Linked DNA regions of Homo sapiens: all the other regions are linked to region 3. Evidence: promoter capture Hi-C in 16 types of primary human blood cells and fetal thymus (Javierre and others, 2016). All regions are on one chromosome and are shown on one strand. Each heading gives the region's core, a stretch centred on a gene start or on the middle of the fragment in contact. The rest is flanking DNA. Distances are from core to core; before and after follow the strand shown. Region 1 overlaps CACNB4 (calcium voltage-gated channel auxiliary subunit beta 4). Region 2 overlaps NEB (nebulin). Region 3 holds the start of NEB (nebulin). Region 4 overlaps CACNB4 (calcium voltage-gated channel auxiliary subunit beta 4).

Region 1 (2,700 bases), core at 42-2,541, 130 kb before region 3:
TTGACTTCTCTCTCTCTCTCTGCATGTGTTTGCCTCATTCTTTTTTTCTCACCTCTGCAAAGGTAACAGACATGATGCAGAAAGCCCTCTTTGATTTCCTGAAGCACAGGTTTGATGGGAGGTGAGAAATATAGATGTTTTTGTATTTTTATTTTCCTTTAACCAAACTTGTGTGATAAATTGAATTGTAGATCTATGTTTCCAGAGATTTCAGAAGTTCTCTAGTTAAAAGTTAACTCAGTATTCTTGGGAAGAATATAATAAAAGAACTCTGAAAATATGAAGTATAACATTGAGTCCCCAGTGAAGAAAGGACCATGAGAAGAAAAATAAGCCATTTGTTTTATTTAAATGTATATATCTTTATTTTCTCAGTTATTAATAATTTCATACCAAAATGTTTTTTATGAAAAAATATTAATTAAAATATATAATATTTCTCATGAGTATAGTGGCTTGCTGGTCAAACTAGGCAGTATTTGGGAATTGTGTATGTGTGTGTGTGTGTGTGTGTGTGTGTGTGTGTCATATGAAAGCATAAATGTCAAGTACTGAATTTCCTCAAAAGAAGAGAGTGAGAATTATTTTAATCATAAGCCTCCCAAAGTGATCATTTTGTAGGGAATAGTACTTATTTGGATATTTATTATAGTTGTGGGTTGTTTTTATTAGAAATGTCCTTGTTATTTTATTGATCTTTTTTTAATGTATTTTACTATGATCCATCAACAATATGGCTCAGGCATTAGCCATTAAATAATTTTATCATTTAAGTTTTGTGAAAAATTCTAAAGAAAGTTTCTCTGTTTTGCAGAGAAATGGTAAAAAGCCTGTATTGACTCAATTCTAAATATTAAGCTCTTTCACAGTGCTGAATGCAGTCCATGTAAAAATAACCACATGAAAAAACCTGAGATTTATCAGAAATGTAGGAAATTTAAATGGGGTGCATCAAAAAGTATGGGCAAATGCATCCAGTTTATTACTGTAGGATTGAAGAAAAACATCACATTCTTTATTTTTGAAGGCAGTAATTAAGCCATTCACTTTCTCTTTGCTAAATTATGAGAATCCACTAAATGCACAAAATAATTTTAAAATGTAAAAAAACTTCAGATAGATTTTAATAAATTGGTATATTAAGAATAAAAACAAGCATGGTATTGCTTTAAATATAAATTGTATGCATTTGTTAAAATAAAAGCTTTCTGGATAATTGGGTAAAATATTCATTAGTTTCTGGAACAATATAGAAAGTTAGTAAACAGATTTTAGTTTAAGAAATAAGAATGCTTCTAGGTACATTAGTATATAGGTCAGGCTGCCTTAATAAATAGACCCCAAAATGTGTAGTGATTCAAACACAATGGAAGCTTATTATTGCTCACTTAACAGTCTGAAGCAGGTGTTCCTTGGCTGGGAGGGAGGATAGAGTTGGGGGAGGGGAGAATTGGGCAGAAAGTTTGTTCCCTCTGTCATTTGGGGCCCTTAGCCCAGGTACGATGTCTCTAGTCAGCTTGCCCGGCCTGGAGGTAGCGCAACTGACATTTCACTGGTTAGAACTTGGTTATGTGGTCATACTTAATTGCAGCGGAGGCACTCTTGCAGTCCAGGAGGAAGAGGAGATAGAATTTGTTGAATCAATAATAGCCTTCGTCACATTCATCTACTGGACAAAGGCTTAATAAGAAAGATGTATTTGTTCCATTTCACTCTCTTTAAAAAAGAAATAGGCAGATAATGAAGTAGCTTCAAAGAAAATAAGTTAAAAGCCCTGAATCCTAGAGCATTGGAGTTGGAAGGATACATAAAATGTCTTTTAGACTCATCATTTCTCCAATAACCACAATCAGATAGACAACCTGCTTCTGTTTGAAACTTTTGGTTATTGGGATTACACTTTCTAAAAAAGCATTGCAAAAAAATAGCTGAACTCTGACTTTGTAACTTAATAGGGCTGGTCTTGGTCTTGCTGTCTGATGCTCTGGCCTTAACCCTAACCCTCATGCAGGTCCCTGTGGATTGAAGGCAGCCAGCATGCCTTGGTCGCACGTGCATAGTTCCTTCAGATATGTATGGAGTCACATGGTTTCAACCTGTGGAGCTGTTACCTAAGGCAGTTCTGAGCAGTGCCGAATCCACTGGCCCCATAACAGCCCTATCTGAACAAATCCCATCCCATAAGACAGTGTTAGATTATTTTGGTCTATAACATACTTATACGCAACAGTGCTGTTAAAGGTTTGCCCTCAAGAATGAAGAATCTGATGTTCTTCCTCAATCCTGAGGCCCAGAAAAAGGGAATTTATTTAATTGTAACAGCAGAGATTTGTCTCGAATCAAGTAGAATTGTCGCATCCATTACTGTACACATACTACTGAAGTTGGTTTTAATAGAAATTGAATGCAAATTTCAATCTCAAGTATTCATGGGGTCTGATGACATGGCAGAGGGTCTGGAGGAAGAGCCCAGCAGTAGCAAAAGTAATAGCTGAAGAGAGAGACTTAGCCCTGGAGAAATCTGATATATTTCTCCAGCAGGAGAAAGATAGGTAGATATTAAAGGGGTGAGGGGTGAGAGAATGGACTTGATTTCAAATATTAAGAGGCCAGGCAGCAGAATGAACAATAAGGAGTTCCTTGGTTGAGTGTATGTGGAGACTTTGATAAGAAAGAAATTCGCTGGTAGCGTCACACTGA
Region 2 (2,700 bases), core at 1-2,500, 200 kb after region 3:
GGCACTGGGTAAAAAGAAAAATACTTTGTTAAAACCTTCCCCTGCTACCTCTGATCAGAGAGCTCATTACTATAAATGGTGCTCAGCATCATCAAAACACAAAAGGCAGAGCTATTCTCTTAAAGTGTGTAACACATTGTGCCCCTCCACAAGACCTGTAGGTGGCTTGGTTGGAAATTGGGAAGACACTTAAGCTTGTCTCTCTCTTCTGCATTTATTTCTCAGAAAAAGTACAAGATTCAATATGAAAAGATGAAAGACAAGTACACTCCGGTTCCAGATACGCCAATCCTCATCAGAGCCAAGAGGGCTTACTGGAATGCCAGTGATGTATGCATCCCTTCCTTTTTTCTTCTGTTGTGATGGGGAGAGCTGAGGTTGAAGTACCTAAGAAACATAACATATTTCAGCCATATCCATAGTTCTAAACCATGGCCTAGGAAAAAAACACACATTTTTTTAAAGAGAAAAAAAAATGCCCAAACAATACTAGTCAGGCAAAATAGCTGAGAGATACCAGAAGCCTATTCTTCTCAATTCTCTCCTGAATAAAAATATGACCCTTTCTTATAATTCTTCAGCAGCATTTTCTGGGGATACTTGACAGTTAATTTACTTATCCATAAAATTATGGTCTTGCAGTCAGCCAGACATGGATTCAAATCCTGATGCTGTTACTTGCCTGCTGTATGACTCTATATCATCTGTCTAATTTTTCCGAGTCTCTTTTCATATATGTGGAATGATAATGAGAATTGTGATAATTAAATAAAACCAAACAAGATAATGTATAAGTGTCTAGCATGCTGCTGGGCTCCTAGTTACTCAGAAAATGTTTGTTCCCTTTTTTCTCTTAATTGCATATAGATCATGTGAATGATGCATGACACAGTGGTTAAAATTAGGGGGGACAGATGTTCATTTTCCATATCACACAATCGAGGGCAAGGCTGCCTTTTAATGGTAATAATCTGTTAATAATCTGTTAATGAAGATGTGAAGTAGTGAATCCAAGGTAAATAGCCAATCCTTACGGGTTTTGTGTCTCAGGGTCCAACCAGGAATTCACTGTACCCATTACCAGAGCCACACCCCTAGAGGACTAGACATGTTGGGACTTAAACTGAGCCAAAAATCAAGCCAACTTCATGACCCCCTCAACTTAGCAACATAGCTCTAGGATTTCAAGGCATCTTAAGGTAATTGCAGTAAGCCCGAGGCAGAAAAGAGAAGGCACAGCAAATGTGAACAATATCTCAGTTCCATAATTTTGTTAGGAATTTTTATTTGGAGAAGAGAAGAGCCTACTAGTTAGAAAAAGGCAATGCCAGTTAGTGCTTAAAATGTAAGCTGGGAAAAAATCATATACTCCCCTCAAAATCTACCTTCTAGGATATTTTTAGTCTTCTTGTGACATCCTTCATCATTATCACTTCAAAGTTACTGTTGAATATTTATTTGAACCAAGCTGAATTAATATCTTACAGCGGTGGCCACACATTGAAATTGGCCCTGGGATTCATCATGCCCCACTGGACAGCACCATCCCTAGGGCTTTATCAGTAGCAATTCTGATAACTCTAATCTTTACAATAGTCTAATGTAACAAGGGTAGTATCTGGCATTTAATTCAGTATTAACCATGGCTAGCCCCACAAGTAGATCTAAGCAATCTTATGATCCATCTAAAAAACAAAATTACAAAGTCAAAGAAAAGACATCTTTCACTGTGTGTTTGCTCAGTTAACCCCAAAAGAAAAGAACTGTTTGACGTTGAAAATAGGTTGTGCAGAGAAGCACCCATCTTGTGTAGATTAGATGAATCATCTATGATATTCTCAGGTTAGAATCAGAGCTGTTTTCTCTTGAAATATCACAAAGATAAAGATTATAATGAAATGAAGTTTTAAGACTGCTTAGTGAAGAAGGCATTTTAATACTAGGAGTTAGAAGCTAAACCTTTTTCCCTTTTCCATGTACATTAGCATATCTTGGGCTCAACAATGTTGTTTGTTTGGGTTTTTTTTTTCTCTCAAATGAACTTTTGGTTTATGTTTTATATTTAAATAAACTTTCTATTTTAAGTAGTCTTAGATTTACCGAAATTGTACAGAGTTATCACATGCCCCACACCCAGGGGAACACCCATATCCTCCTGTTGCTAACACCTGTATCACCATCGTAGATTTGCCATGATCAGTGAACCAAGATTGATACATTATGATCGGTTAAACTCCATAGTTGCTTTGGATTTCATTAGTTTTCCCTAGTGTTCTTTTTCTCTTCTAGGGTCTGAAATAAGCTTTTAAATTTTTCCTAAATGTATTCATGGGAAAACCAGAGAGAAGACAAGAGAGTTCATGCTTAAAAGAGCTCAATTATTTAACTTGGTAGTTTTTTTGTAATTCATGTGTTTTTTCTCTTTCTAGCTACGCTACAAAGAAACATTTCAAAAGACCAAAGGGAAATACCACACGGTGAAAGATGCCCTAGACATTGTCTATCATCGCAAAGTCACAGATGACATCAGTAAAGTATGTCCCTAAATATTTCTACTTGTGTTGGGCTCTACAACTCACCATATACATATACATATATTTTTTAGCAACCTCCCTCTTCTGAAATTCTCCAGAAAGAAGCCATATTTACATTAACTTTGGGTAAGACTTACAGCTGTCTTTGTGTTTTTTATAACAGATA
Region 3 (2,736 bases), core at 237-2,736:
TTAAAGTATGGGCCTGTATTATTTTTTAATTCAACAACACATTTTAAAGCATGTAATGACTAGTAAGTCACAATTCTAGTTTGCAGCTACCAAGTGAGTGATCTCATATTACATAAATATCCTTTGGTCATAAGACCTGTGAGAACATACAAGATGAACAGGTATAATCAGTTAAGATGATAAAATTCTGTTAGATTTTATTTACTACCATGTGAATCATGGAGGGGGAAAAGGTACATGTATTTGAAATATGAGATTACTTTCTCAAACTCCTGGCCTCAGACAATCTGCCCGCCTCGGCCTCCCAAAGTGTTGGGATTACAGGCGTGAGCCACCACGCCCAGCGAGATTACTTTCTAATGTTTAACTTAAAAAAGAAAAAATATTACAATATGTTTAATCTCAAATCCATATCAAGATATAGGTGACTCACAGGGTTTTGCCTGAATACAGGAGCAACCCAGAGAAAGAGCAGTTCTCTGTCACATAAGAGCCTGTGATTTCTGTCGCTGTGTGTAAGGACAGACAGACAGACAGATAGAATTAGATTTTAAATTAGAAAAAATACTTCAGGAGCAAAGAAAGTGCAAGAAAGACATCAGGCAAGTTTTAAGAAAATGGTTAGATAATTTTTATGAAGGAAATGTCTTACGTTCGGATTTGCCAAATAGGGCATTATTTTCTCCTGATAAGTTACTGATTTCCATGTTATCTGCTCTTGCTGTTCAGAAATTGAGCCTGTTTGTGTCCGCATTCACACGTTGCTTCTGGGAGCCAGGAGTCATCTGAGTTAATAGAAAAATCACTAACTCGGTTACATATGAGAGAGGTTCTGTATTCCTAGCAGCTTGCCTTATCTAAGGAGGGAGAAGGTGCTAAATAGGATTTTGGTATACCCTCTTGGTTTAGTAACAGAAAAATGATGGGGTCTAATCTTTCTAATTACACCCTGTGGATATCTTATTTAGTGCCATTGTCAAATATTTTCACCTTTAACTTCACTCATCACATTTTTAAAAATTGCTTTTGTCAACTTGATGTTTACTGGGTCTTATTCCTCAGTTTCTTTCACACTAGCACCAGTAACTTACCTGTAGCTCACCTGGTGAACCTTACCAGAGTGAGTACATTTACCACCATGACTGGACAAATGACATGAAGAAAGCAGTCACGGAAGGGTTAAAGCCTCTCAAAGTCATGCTTATTTTCTACTAAATTCTTTTGCATGAATATGACATTGAATGGGGCCTCAGTAAATGGGAAATTCAACCTAAAATTGAACTGCACAGGCTGGAAGTTAGGTAAAATTTGATTCCATTTGAATTGTTCTAAGCAAGCAATTTGTTACCCTTTATCCTTTAGTGGAATTGATGAACAGGTGGTTTTCAGAAGATCACTTGGTAAATTTAGCTTCTGAAATTTGAGCAACTCAAGATCTGATTGGTTGCTCTTGCCACATGATAATTCGGAGCCCAGGCATCACGCTGGCTTTTGCCTGGGGTTCTCAGGAGGGGAGAGTTGGGAGAGGCTTTGCTGCTGAGGAAATTTATTTGGTAGATTGAAGGTAAGGCCAGTTTATGACTTTTTCTGTAATACTCTTTCAGGAGATGCTCCACAACTTCCCTCGAAGTATTTTTCAAAGGTTTGGGCCATAACTGAGGAAATTAGTGGTAGAAATATGGCTAGGAGAGTTTAACCCCATTGCCCTACTAAGGCCCTACTAATATCTGCTATGTACCGTGTGTGATTAGAGTCAAGTCCTTTGCTAACCAATTTATTGCTTGACTGAATTGGCTCTCTTGTCTAACATTTTTTTGCCTTTGATATTTTTCTCTAAATATATTAGTGTGAAAAAGAAGATACGCTGCTCTACGTTCCTATATTTATCCTGTTCTACTGGGCTTCATTTGCCTGAGGAGTGGCAGTTTCGCTAGCTTAACAAAACCAGCCACTGCAGGGTATTGGTTTACATGGCAAACATCTTTGGATGAAGGGACAGCTGTTCCAACTCATCATCCACTTCATATCAAGAGTCTTACTCTCTGGCGTCAAACTGTAGAGGCCTTGAGAGATCCTTTCGCTGTTTTCTGCATTAGAAGCTTAGGCTAAGGACTGACAATCCTATATGTACCTCAATCAATGCTTTACAACTTTGTTATTTTTCAGGTTTGAACGAGAGCTACAGAAACGAAAGAAAAAGTCTGTATAAGCCAATGGTGTTCGGGAAGAAAATAACCCCATTGCCTTGAGGTTTCTTTTTTTCTTTTAAAATTTATTGACAGATGTATTTTTATGGGTTCCAATTTGAAGCCTAAGATATATTGCAAACAGTGGATCAGGGCAGTATGGAAAACTAAGTCAGCCCTCTTAGAATTTTGGTGCTGGGGGATAAATTTCAGCTTCTTCTGAAACCCAAGCTGACCTTTCACTAAAATTTTTGCTGGAAAATGTCTTTTCTCTAAGTGTTTGGAAGTTTAAATTCTCTGTTCCCTGAGTCCAAACTCTCTCACTTCCTTACCTCAATTTCGTTTTACAATTTTAACTAAACTGATTATGTAGAAGTAGCAATTCCCAACACTGAAGGAATAAAGAGAAAGAAATTTGAAGCTTCTGCTGTTTATACTTGTATTTTAAATGTCTTCTCTCCTTTAGCCTGCAACAATATATGAATTTGTACAATAGTTTAGCTTCAAATTCTATTTTTATAATGTCATAAGATAATTTCTGTGCTGGGAA
Region 4 (2,700 bases), core at 15-2,514, 220 kb before region 3:
GGAGGTTGGGGGAAGGGTACGCATGGGACACCTTGTTCTGGAAACTCAGCCAGAATTTTGTCAGCTGTGATTCATCTGATTCTTAGGGTATTTGAATTTCCAGTTCCTAATTTAGAGCTTGCAAAGATACTGTGAACCCAAAGCCTCACCTCCATGTATTTAATGGAAGATGTATAGTTTTGAAGTTCCAGATTGACTTCCGGCAGAAAATGAGGACATTCAGCAGGCTCTGGCTATAAACTATATCATTTCTTTAGAAGTATAAAAAGTGTCCATTATCCTATCAGCATTTGTGTTAAATGACTTCTGAGATTCTCTAATCAAGGATGTTGATAGACTTTGGAAGCATTTCCCAGATTACTGATTGGGCCTTCCTCGAGGTCCTTAGACTCCAAGGAATTATTGGACCTGTCTGCTATACTGGGAACAGATCAGACACTGATAGGTAGTTGTTATCTTTGTACCTACATTTAAAAATACCTAGCCTCCCATTTGAAAGGAGCCCTTTTTCTGTGATCACATACTGTATTGATGTTTCGCAGAACATACTGTGAGAGAAATTATTTGCAGTAGGTAATTGGGAGCCGTTCACAGATTTTTAAACTGGAAAGTGGTTTGATCAGCTGTGCATTGGTCAGGGTAGAAGATGGATTTGAGGAGAGGAAGAATTCAGGCAGGGAGTCCAAATAAAAAGCTGTGGAAATAGTACAGGTGTGAGCTGATGGAAGCCTGAACTAGGGCAGCAGTAGTGGGGATGGAGAGGAGGAGGTGAACTGAAAAAATATTTAAGTCATAAATGCAGCAGGTTTAATGGCTAATTAGCTTATGAAGGAAGAGGAACTCCCACTTTCGGCTTAGGTGACTGACCGGTTGGACAGTGATGCCACTGAGATTGGAAAACTAGGCCATTTCTTCTGATATCTTTTCCACTGACCCTGGGGATCTCAGGTTAGAAGCCAGGTCCCGGATTGAAGGCCTCAACCCTTTAGCCATTGGTTTCTGGCTAAGAAAGTTACTGACTTCATCCCAAGATCATGAAATAGTTTCGTTCTAGACAGCTGGGACTCCCGGTTACCAGGAACTTGCTGCCAAATAATCGGTTATGGCTCTATCTGTTCCGGGCCTGTACCTATCCTCATATACCCTATTATGCCATGTTTGGAAACTATAGAGGAAGCTTGCCATATATTATCCTTTTACATTAAATATTTCTTTTTCTATTTAGAAGTAGATTGTAACATTTTCCAGAGTCTCTCATACTTCTTATATGTGGTAGATGAGTTTCTAGCCATTAATTTATGCGCCTGTTGATACATGTGAAAAAAACAGGTCCCTAGTCAAATAAGCTTGATAATCACCATACTCCGTCCCTTTCTCAAAAGATTCACAGCACCCAGTAGCCCACTAATATCTGTTAGCATTCCACAATAAATAAACCAATTAAATTTTATTTAACCCCAAGATATTCCAAACCTACTTGATCTCAGAATCCATTTTTTTCCCTAAAGAATACCTATTAAGTACTTGAATAACTAGTATACTACAGAATACAATTAGGGAAATGCTGGTTTAGTTATTTACACCAGGCCTCATAATCACTGCAAACCATCTCAGTGTTGTAGACTGGAAGGATTTTGTGGGACAGAGTGAAGTTAACGTTAAATAGATACAGTATATATATTTCTGGGGCCTCCCTCTTAGGAGACTTTGATTCAGTTAGTTTGGAGTAAGGCTTAGGATTCATATTTTTGGCAAACGCTCCCCAAATCACTTTCATGTAAATTCTTTGAGAAATACTGGGTCAAATTATTGTCTTGGTCAGCTCGAGAGTTTGTGACAGTGCACACAGCACTTAGTTTCCCTGTTCTTTTAGCTTCTTGTCCACTTATTTGGGGTGGTAAGCACTTTGAAGTATGAATGTCTTTCTTTAAATAAAATGTAATTGGTTTATTCATCTCCCTATCCTTACCCTACCCTTGCTTGCCTCAAGATGGGCACTCAATAAATGGTTGTTGGAATGAATTGAAATTCAATAACTTTAATTCCTCCAGGAATCAAGAGGAATCTAGGGAATGGTCAGAAATGATTGAACACAATATATTTTATCAGGGATTCCCAAGGGACACACACACACACACACACACACACACACACACACACACACACGCCCAGCCACTCTACTTTTTTTTTCTTTGAAAAAATCAAAGTGAATTTAAAATTGGGGGTTAGCAGGTTTAGGAAATTAAAAGGCCTATATTCTTTCTTTTTTTTGAGATGGAGTCTGACTCTGTTGCCCAGGCTGGAGTGCAGTGGCACGATCTCGGCTCACTGCAACCTCCATTTCCCAGGTTCAAGTGATTCTCCTGCCTCAGCCTCCCAAGTAGCTGGGATTACAAGCATGCATCACCACGCCCAGCTAACGGCTAATTTTTGTATTTTTAATAGAGACTGGGTTTCGCCTTGTTGGTCAGGCTGGTCTTGAACTCCTGACCTCAGGTGATCCACCGCCTTGGTCTCCCACAGTGCTAGGATTACAGGCATGAGCCACTGTGCCCGGCTGGAAATTAAAAGGTCTGTATTCTTAAAAGAGCCAGAATATGATGAGACACTCAGCTATATTGATTGTAAAAATAATTGGTGGTAGTGTTAGTCTCCCTCCTCGCCTACAATCCTAGACCCTATTCCCTAGAGTAAACACTT

Evidence for each region. Contacts are between HindIII fragments. The CHiCAGO score rates a contact against its expected background, and 5 or more counts as called.
Region 1: a fragment that was not itself captured here is called in contact with the fragment with the promoter of NEB in region 3 in 1 of 17 cell types (total B cells); the score reaches 6.3 in total B cells.
Region 2: a contact is called between a fragment that was not itself captured here and the fragment with the promoter of NEB in region 3, in 1 of 17 cell types (M2 macrophages). The highest score is 5.1, in M2 macrophages.
Region 4: a contact is called between a fragment that was not itself captured here and the fragment with the promoter of NEB in region 3, in 4 of 17 cell types (endothelial precursors, naive B cells, total B cells and 1 more). The highest score is 6.5, in endothelial precursors.

Annotation. Positions count from the first base shown.
Region 1 is chr2:151,866,598-151,869,297 of GRCh38, reverse strand. It overlaps CACNB4 (calcium voltage-gated channel auxiliary subunit beta 4), which reads left to right. Exons shown (of 14, transcript NM_000726.5): 9 at 63-121. Among named protein-coding and RNA genes, the nearest start is that of ARL5A, 40 kb to the right of the region's middle. The HindIII fragment of the contact is 169 bases long and covers 1,207-1,375 here.
Region 2 is chr2:151,537,974-151,540,673 of GRCh38, reverse strand. It overlaps NEB (nebulin), which reads left to right. Exons shown (of 182, transcript NM_001164508.2): 138 at 226-330; 139 at 2,430-2,534; 140 at 2,698-2,700. LOC124906081 (a long non-coding RNA gene) reads right to left here. Exons shown (of 3, transcript XR_007087266.1): 2 at 1-2,700. Among named protein-coding and RNA genes, the nearest start is that of RIF1, 130 kb to the right of the region's middle. The HindIII fragment of the contact is 2,108 bases long and covers 197-2,304 here.
Region 3 is chr2:151,733,226-151,735,961 of GRCh38, reverse strand. NEB (nebulin) reads left to right here and starts at 1,486. Exons shown (of 182, transcript NM_001164508.2): 1 at 1,486-1,564; 2 at 2,167-2,250. The HindIII fragment of the contact is 3,549 bases long and covers 1-2,101 here.
Region 4 is chr2:151,956,724-151,959,423 of GRCh38, reverse strand. All of the region lies in intron 2 of CACNB4 (calcium voltage-gated channel auxiliary subunit beta 4), which reads left to right. Among named protein-coding and RNA genes, the nearest start is that of ARL5A, 130 kb to the right of the region's middle. The HindIII fragment of the contact is 169 bases long and covers 1,180-1,348 here.